3 separate regions of the Homo sapiens genome follow, and regions 1 and 3 are each linked to region 2. Evidence: promoter capture Hi-C in 16 types of primary human blood cells and fetal thymus (Javierre and others, 2016). All regions are on one chromosome and are shown on one strand. Each heading gives the region's core, a stretch centred on a gene start or on the middle of the fragment in contact. The rest is flanking DNA. Distances are from core to core; before and after follow the strand shown.

Region 1 (3,116 bases), core at 213-2,712, 610 kb before region 2:
TTCTTCCATTTTTATTAAAATGCTGTTTCGAATGTAGGAACGCTGTGAACAGCTGGCTGGATAAAGATTTATAAGAGAAGCAACCACTACATGCTATGTAGGGCACTGCTTTTTTTTTTCTTTTTTTTTTTTTTTTTTTGAGGTGGGAGTGAATTTAGTTGTTCTCAATATAGAATAATAAAATCACAACTGTGCCTACGGTGATGAGAGGAAGACAGGGCTTTTATTCTGCAGCTTTAGCCTTGAAATATTTCTTAAAAATAGGTTTTCTATCTCACTACCTATTTGGAAAGAGATTGAAGCTGAAAACCTTATGAAACCCACTGTGGTCTCAGAGCAGTTGAACTAGCACTTGGTGAAAATCAGCCTGGAACAGATCCAATCACCTGCTGTGTAATAAAAGGGTATAGGATCATGAGGGCACTTCTGGCCTTGGCTGAAGATGCTTTCCACTCACACATCATTCTCCCCTGAACTTGTGTCCCATGCAGCCATGAGGACAGAAACAAAAGCATTGCTGGTAACGACTGAAAGGAGTGCAGGCCACCTGCATGATGCAGGGGAACGTGGAGTCAACAGCAGGAATTAAAACAAGGAGGGGGGTGGTGTTGGAACTTGTAAGTGAAGCCTTGTGTTTAGTGTCTGTGCCAATAACGCCGTGTTTTCTTACTTGGAACACAGCAAAACAAATGGGCAAAAGAACAAGAGACCAGATCTCCCTCAGTCTGAAGAAACATCGTGAGAAACATGGAAATTGTAAAATGGTGGACAGGTGTCTGTACTAAGAACAAAGGTAAACTTGTTCAGCGTATCCTGGACTGTGATTTTCCTTCGCAAGCTTGCCAACCCTCCCACATCTGCACGTGTCCAGCATGGTGTACTGGGATTAGCACAGCTAGACAAGTGCTCAGAGGGCTGTGAATGGGGTGCACATGGTAGGGAATATTGTTGGTCGGCAGTGCATGGGGAAAGCAGCAGTGATGGCAAACGGCTTGATTTATTCATCCAGGACAGTCATGCCTGTTTTATAGGCCTATTAAAGAAAGACAAAAACAAGAAGCTTAGATGTTGACTCAACTTATTTGGATGTAGGGAAAATGGAATACTTTAGGAATAATTCATGGTTATAAAATCCAAAATCAAATATCTGTTACTAATCTGCATGCTAAGAGATATCTTAGTAGCTAATGGCAATTTAGATATCTCATATATTCACTTTTTATTTTAATAACTTTATAGTTTTATAAGGAGGTCAGATATGGCCTGAACAAGCAATGGAATGTATGAATATAATAAATGATTGAGGGAAAATAAATACATGGGACCTAATAAGAATTTTTTATATTTTCAAAAAAATGTTCTGTGGATGACAATCTCCATCACTTGGAAGATAAAATTTAAACTTAAAATGCACATTTTTCAAGGTTCAACTTGATTGAGGATATTTGAAAGAAAACTTACTGAACATGCTCACTGATGGAATAAGAAAGAAAGAGTTCTATTTAAACAGCTAGCAAAATAAAACTTCTTATAGTCCCCTCCTCTGCAAGGTCTCTTCCCAAACATTTCAAATATAACTTATTATTTCCAGTGGATAAAAACAACCTAAAAATCAAATATTACTTAAAAAAGAAAAACATAACATCACAATGTTGAAGAATTTACAATGGGAGCAAGGCGTCAATGATGTAATGTACCTGAAAGTCACTGTCAAGGCTGAACATCAGAGGAAGACCATCCCACCTCCCACGTCCTTTACCTCTCATCCAGGCTGGCTGTGCTCTGGGAGTCATTTCTTCAATGCCTCTTTGATTGTCCCCTTTTCACTTTACCCATGTGGCCGCTGCTTCAGGTTGAAGCTTCAGTTCTGTTGCCTCTCCCTTAAAGTGACCACCCATCCACATTTTCACAGGACTGAGTGCTGTTTACAGGAAGACATTGAAGACGACTGTCATTAGGAGATTCCCAAGCAGACAGGGACAGCTGGGCACCCTGTGAGTCTGCCTCTGGTCTATCTTCCTTCCATCTGCCCTCTTCATTTTGGCCTTTATAGGGTGCCCTGTGCAAATCTGATTTCACCACCTTCTGCTGGATGGAGAAGCTCCAGGTGGACATCTGACATGAGATCAGGTGGGGCTGGAATGTGGCTGGGGCCCCGCGCTTGCTTCTGGGCAAGTTTTCCAATGTCCTGAGCCTCCAGAACAACTTTGTGTAGTGCAATCTTTGTGTTCTGTATGTCTATTCCAAAGATCCCAGTGGCCTCTCACCACCCCCACCCAGACTGGAAACTCCCTCAGGGCACAGTGCAGGGGGTTTTTAGGTGTCTCATGCCTTAGCTCCCTTCTGGACATAAAAGACACTCCACACTTGCTCAGGACTTTGATGTCCATACGATTCAGTTTGCACTGCCACGCAGGGATGCTCCAAAGTCCCCATAGGACTTGCGATGCCGTTGAGGGACAGGCTGGACCAACCGAGAGCTCCCAAAGGCCCTGCCCTGGAGCTATGAAATGCAAAGGTTTCCACCAAGAAAGACTTGCCAGGAAGCGAAGGGGCTTCTGCAACTTCCACTTGCACAACTCCTTTCCAGGCACTGGAAAGGTGACTCAGAAATGTCTACTTTAGCATAGACTTTTATGAAGTTAGGAAATGCAATTATTGTTGTCCTGTTTATCTTTACATATACCAGCCCACAATGTGTAAGCTTCAGGGCACTCAAAGCCTGGCCTCCTCACCAATTAGGGTGGGGTTTGTTCTCACAGGAAATCCAGGAATTTTTTTGTTTTTTTTTTTGATATGGGGTCTTGCTCTGTCGCCCAGGCCGGAGTGCAGTGGCGCGATCTCGGCTCACTGCAAGCTCCGCCTCCCGGGTTCACTCCATTCTCCTGCCTCAGCCTCCCGAGAAGCTGGGACTACAGGCGCCCGCCATCACGCCCGGCTTATTTTTTTGTATTTTTTAGTAGAGATGGGATTTCACCGTGTTAGCCGGGATGGTCTCAATCTCCTGACCTCGTGATCTGCCCGCCTCGGCCTCCCAAGGTGCTGGGATTACAGGCGTGAGCCACCGCGCCCGGCCTAGGAATTTCTTATGATCAGTAGAATTTAAAAACTACTGC
Region 2 (2,906 bases), core at 205-2,704:
ACCAAGGAAAATGGATGATTTGGACCGGCAGACAGGCCAATGCCCCCGCGGAGAATTAAGTGTGCAGCCGCCTGCCCCGACATCTAACGCCCACTGGGACGGGAGACTAAGAGGACACCATTTGTTTTAAGCCAAGGGACACTGTTTTCTTTAATCCTCCATTATGTAACGCAGGAAGAAAAGTGCTTTTCTTTCTGTGCAAATGAAATGAAAACTTGGGCAACTTACAAAAGTAAAATCAAACACCGTTTCAGACACCAGCACATTACTGCAACTTAATTTTTGTTTAATCTCAAATTCGCACTCACGCCGTGGAGAGACCTCTCCATCCCTTTGGACCTCTATTGTTAAGATTATTTTGATTGACTCTACCAGGCTTAGAAGGGGTCTGTCTGGCAAACTCGGATACAACTATCTCGGAGCTGCTAAAGAGGGAGAAAACCAAGTTTTCCAGACTCGGTTCGAAAACTAAAGAGGCCGCGCGAGTGGAACCCGCGGCCAGGAAGGGAAGTCCTGCTACGCTACGCCGGGCCGACCTGCAGGAACCCCGTGGGCCTGCCCGGGCGCCCTGGCCGAGCCAGGCGAGTTTGCCCCCGACCTCCAGCGCGGGCACCGCTCCACGGGCCTGCTTCTGCGGCCTCTCTGAATTCACTCGCTACCCGCTCCCTGGCCCGGGCCTTCCGCTTTCCCAGGCCGAGATGGCCCAGCCGTCACCCGCCCGGCCTCCCAGCCCTCTTGCGTCCCCGGGGGCCGCGGCCTCGGCCACCGGGAACCTGCCCCCGGACCTTTCTAGTTCCTCTTCCGGACCAGGTCCACCCGTAGTCTCTCCCTCCCGGGCGACCCGCCACCCTTGCCCTGGCGCGGGTGAGACAGAGGAGAAGCGGGGGAGGCCGGGCGCACTCACCATCTGCGAGAAGAGGCTGAGATCCGCGGCGTAGGGCAGGAAGGCGCTGTAGTTGGGCGCGCCCGCGTACGGCCCCGCCGCCGCGTACATGCCCAGCACCGAGGTGACTGCAGCCGCGCCTGCCCCGCCGCCCAGCTCCGCGGCCCCCGGTCGGCCCGACGAGGCGGCGGCAGCCGCCGCAGCGGCCGCGGCCAGCACCCCCGGGCGCTCGCCGCCGTAGGCGCCCGGCCCCGCGGCGCTCAGGTACTGCGGGTAGCCCAGCTGCGGGAAGGACATGTCCGCGGACTCGGCGACCGCCGCAGCGGGCGAGTATTAAAGGCGCGGGGAGGGAGGCGGAGGCCGGCCGGAGGGGGTTGCAGGGGGCGCCGCGAGGGGTCTAGGGAGGAGCGGGCGGCCGGCCGGGCGCGCTCGGGCGGGCCGGGAGATGGAGGCCGGTCGCGGCTCCTCTGCCCGGTGCTCGCAGGCGCCCGGCTCCCGGCTGCGCCCGGATCCGCAATCGCGCGCCGACTGCGGCGGCCGCCCTCCGCTCGGCGGCGGGGCTTTCAGACACAATTTGAAGTTGATGCTTTGATTGGCATCCCCTTGAGCGCAGGCCCCGCCCCTGGCTCCCCTCCCGCCCCCTCCCTGCCTCCCGCCCGCCCTCGCCGGCCGCTCCCGCCCCTCCCGCGAGCACGTGGTGCCCCGTGCCGGCCCGGCCAGCTACTCTCGCGGTGGGCGCGCGCGTCGGGGCGGCGGGGTGTGGGCCCGGAGGCCGTGGGCTCCTTCCCGACCAGCCCCCGCAGCTGTCTGACAACCTGTCGACACGGGTTTACAGCTGTCTGACACCGGGTTTGCAGTTTCGCGGCCGAGGTGTGTCCCCTTTTTAACAAAAACAACTTGGCGCCTGCTTTTCTACTGTTTGGGCAGCGGGGAAGGGGCCGGCGGCCTGGACGCTGGTGACAGCGAGGGGGGAGCGGCCTCTCCCCCGAGTCCCGCGCGGCCGGGGCCTCCAGGGGACATCTTTGGCAGAAGTGCACCCGGACGCTCTCCGCGAGCCACTGAACCGGCGTGGCGTGACACCCCCGACTCCAGATGCGGGTTCCCGTGGGCCCCTACTGGGTAGTAACCGATCGTCTGCCAATGACCGGCCTCGCCGCCCTTGGGGAAGCGGGGAGCGGCCGAGCTCTGCGGGCTCTTTCAATTGTGCAAACTTTGAGCGAGGGCAAATCCCGCGGAGAAGTCGCCAGCTCGGGGGAAGCAGGCGCAGTCGGCGCCGCGGGTTCTCGGAGGGAGGGGTGGGGGAGACGCGGGGGGAGGGGCTTTCTCTTCACCCAGAAAGCCCCCTGGCAGCCGGAGGGAAACATCCCCCGCGCCCCCGCGAAGGGGGAAGACGGTGTGGCCTGGACGCCCGGTTTGTCCACCAGGTGTGCAGAGGCAGACAGGAAACTTGTGTGGAACGCGCGAACCCGAGTCGGCGCCGCCGCCAGACCGGCAACGGAGCGGCCTCTTGGGTCCAAGTCCCGCGTCCCTCTTCTCCCTGCGTCTCCCCTCTCCATCCTCAGCCTCGTCGGGCTACAGGACGCGGCCAGGCGCGGCGCACTTGAGATGGGCTCCGTTTCGCCGCGGCCCTGGCCGTGCGGCTCCCGGGAGAAGATGCCAAGTGCACGGGCCTCCTCGCCTCCCTGAGCCTGGGAAGGCGCTGGCAGGCCACTTCTGCGCCTCGTGGCTGGAGAGCTCCGGACGGTGCCGTGGGGAACCGGGTACCAGTCCCGGCTCCCGGGGCCACTTTGCGAACCACCTCCTACGCAGAGACGGGGCCGGGAGTTCACCCCGCTGCGGCTCTCCAGCACACCGGACTCCGCGGGAATTTCAGCAGCGCACTCTGGCGTCTTCTCGGCTTTAGGCCGGGTTGGGGCTACGGGATGAAGGCGGCCATCGGGCCAGAGTCGGCATGCTGTTCTGCTGGTGGTTTGAGCCACCCGTATCCTGGACACCGGCCAGGCGGTCCCTTCACCCCCTGCCT
Region 3 (3,105 bases), core at 334-2,833, 570 kb before region 2:
CTCTTAAGGCTGTCGACTGATTAGACAAGGCCCACTCATGTGATGAGGGGTAATCTGCTTTACTCAAAGTGTACTTATTTAAATGTTACACACTTCTAAAAAGTATCCTCATAGCAACATCTAGACTCGTATTTGACCAAATGATTTAGGCACCATAACCTTGTTAATTAGGCACATAAAATGAACTGTCAAAGAATGTGTTGGGCTTTAGATTTACCCACCTTGTTGTGCCACTGTGTTCATTGGTTTGTCTGCTGTCGCATATTTCATTAGGTGAATATACCCCAGTTTACTTGTCCACTCTCAAGTTGATGGGCATTCAAGGCGGGCTGTAGGTTTCTGCCACTGAAAAAGTGTTGGCACGAACATTACTGCACACTCCTCCCTTAGGAAGTGTTCCTTGGATATACTCCTAAGGAAGGGGGCATGTGACCATTCAACCTGAAGAAACTACGCCAAACTCCTTTCCAAAAAGTAGCCCTCATTGCCACAAATATTGGCATCTTACATTCAAGAGCTTCTCTTCATCTACATCTTCTTGGAGGCTTCCAAAAGACTTCTTGGAGGCTTTTTAATTTTTATCAATAATATGTTTAAGATGGTGTTTCATCAAAGTCTTGGTTTATACTTTTCTGTCACTAATAATGTTAAACTTTCTTTGAAGTGCTTAGTGTCCATTTACTTTCTGCTTCTGTGAAATGTCTGTTTATATATTTTGTGCCTTTTAGATTGGATTGTTTGTGTTTTTCTTCTGAATTTGTAGGCTTTCGTTATATATTCTTAATTCCAAAATCTACTGGTTGCATATATTGTGAATAACTTCTTAAAGTTTGTAATTTTTTACACTGTACTTAAGGCATCTTTTGATAGACAAAAGTTTTAAAATTTAAATATGGTCAAGCTTACTAACGTTTTCTTTCATAGTTAATATTTTTGTGTATTATTCAAGAAATATTTTGTGGCACCAAGTTCGAAAATATATTAACATTTATTTTCTACTGAGTTTTAGTTTCTATTTTTGTTACTTAACTTATTAACCTGTTTGGAGATAATTTTTGTATATGGTATGATGTAGGTATTAAAATATACATTATATATGCATGCTTTATAGAAAATTATTTTTTCAGCTTTATTTATTGAATATTTGTCTCTTTTTTCCACTCATCTGTCAAGCCATCTGTGTCATACATCAAAGTTCTATGCTTGTACGGTTCTGTTTCGGAAATCTTTATTTTATTGTATCGAGAAATTTGTGCTTGTTGTGTTTGTTGAGAATGTCTCACTATGCCATACAAACAAGAGAAATAAATACATACACCAATAGGAATAACTAGCAAATATAGATGGGTTGTAAGTAGTTACCTGTGTGATAGAGTTTTACTTAGATAGACTATAAACGTGTGTTGGAAATAAGTTTGAAAAAGGATGGGGATATTAAAAGTAATGCTAATAAAAATAAAGGATTAAAACAACCCAGTTAAAATTAGTAACTATAAAACATGGGTCTGTCACCTACAGAATTACAGCTATATTGCACATTCTTTGGTGACACCTGTTTGGACTCTGTGCATCTTCTGCCCAGATACAAATATTGCTACTCAGCAGGAAAAAGTGAGTTGCAGCTGTGTCCAATACACTTGCTTCTGCATTTTCTCATGAAGCAAGTGTCTACGATTCGAGGCTGCTTGCCTATGCTGAGAATCCTTTCTCATCTTCAGCCTGGTTCTTATAACCACACTGTTACACTGGCACTGGGAAAGACTAATGTCAGGAACCGAAGGAGATCTTGTGTAACAGTGCATCTAGATTTTCACATGTGGTCCTCCCATTCTGCCTTCTGCTTGCAAACCACTCTAGGTGCTTAAATTTCCAATATATACCCTCTTATGTATTGCTCAATATTTGTGAGTTCTTCAAAAACTGTGTGATTCTTATTTGTTTTGTGAGTCTCTATGGCTCCATGGAAAATCGAATGCTTGCCTGGTAGTGTACTAGGATGTGGCAACTGCATCAGAGTAATTTCTTACCTTGATATAATGTCTACCTCTGCACTAGCACCACACACTTTTAAGCATTGTAGTTTTGTAATGATAACGGCTTAATGTTTAGTAAGCTAACCTCACTCCAGAGTCTTCTTCAGATATTCATGGTCATGTACTCTTTCAAGTACATTTTAAAAATCATCTAGATTAATTCTCATTATTGATAAATGTAGTACAACTCTATGTATTTCTGTATTGTTGAACATCTCTTAACAAAGCTTTGTGTTTTCTTCTGTATACTTATTTGGGCATTTTAAGACTTTGATACTATTTAATGATGTGTTTCTTTTAGTTAAAATTTCTAATCATTTGCCACTGGGACACAAAAATTAGATGACTTTTGTATATTAAGCTTACATCTAGCAATCTTAGTAATGTCTACTGTTCTTTCCCATAATTTTTCTGGATATTAAAAAAAATTTCAAAATATAAACAGTTATTATTTTAAAATAATAAAAGTTTGCTACATTCTAGTGAGTATTTCATTCTTATATTTTCTTTTGTTTTTGTCATATTTTACTGGTGAGGACCTTTCATACAAATTTGAGTGTAAGTAGTGATATTGAGTATAAATTATTCTAATTTTAAAGTAAATGCTGTTAATGTTCCCCAATTTTTGTTAACTTTCTCTGTATTTTAATAGATATATTATTTCAGATAACATAAGTTTGCTTTATTTCCTAAATTATTGAGTGTTGTTGTTGTTATCTTAACATAAATGTGTATTGCTTATGCTATTTCTGTAACTATTGAGATGTTCATATAATTTCCTCTTTCATTCCGTCAGTTATAACTTATTTTACAAATTGCAATTATTTATTATTATATTAAGCAATCCTTGCATCTTAGAATAAATCTTTCTTTTTTCCTTCCTTCCTTCCTTCCCTGCCTTCCTTCCTTCCTTCTTTCCATCCTTCCTTCCTTCTTTTCTTTCTTTTCTTTTTCTTTCTTCTTTAAAAAATCTGGGCAGGTAAAGAAATGCTTGTCAACCACAATATTTAATTATTTTTATTACATGCATATAGTATATTTTTCACTTTAAATTAACTCACATTTTCTTATT

The links. The method cuts DNA at HindIII sites, captures the fragments that hold promoters and counts their contacts. A CHiCAGO score of 5 or more calls a contact.
Region 1: a contact is called between a fragment that was not itself captured here and the fragment with the promoter of IRX1 in region 2, in 1 of 17 cell types (fetal thymus). The highest score is 5.9, in fetal thymus.
Region 3: a contact is called between a fragment that was not itself captured here and the fragment with the promoter of IRX1 in region 2, in 1 of 17 cell types (fetal thymus). The highest score is 6.6, in fetal thymus.

The regions. Positions count from the first base shown.
Region 1 is chr5:4,202,219-4,205,334 of GRCh38, reverse strand. No RefSeq gene overlaps it. Among named protein-coding and RNA genes, the nearest start is that of LINC02063, 68 kb to the right of the region's middle. The HindIII fragment of the contact is 799 bases long and covers 1,063-1,861 here.
Region 2 is chr5:3,594,380-3,597,285 of GRCh38, reverse strand. IRX1 (iroquois homeobox 1) reads right to left here and starts at 1,454. Exons shown (of 4, transcript NM_024337.4): 1 at 905-1,454. The coding sequence starts at 1,180. RefSeq lists a silencer at 1,457-1,751. The HindIII fragment of the contact is 18,185 bases long and covers 1-2,906 here.
Region 3 is chr5:4,166,202-4,169,306 of GRCh38, reverse strand. No RefSeq gene overlaps it. Among named protein-coding and RNA genes, the nearest start is that of LINC02063, 32 kb to the right of the region's middle. The HindIII fragment of the contact is 1,359 bases long and covers 904-2,262 here.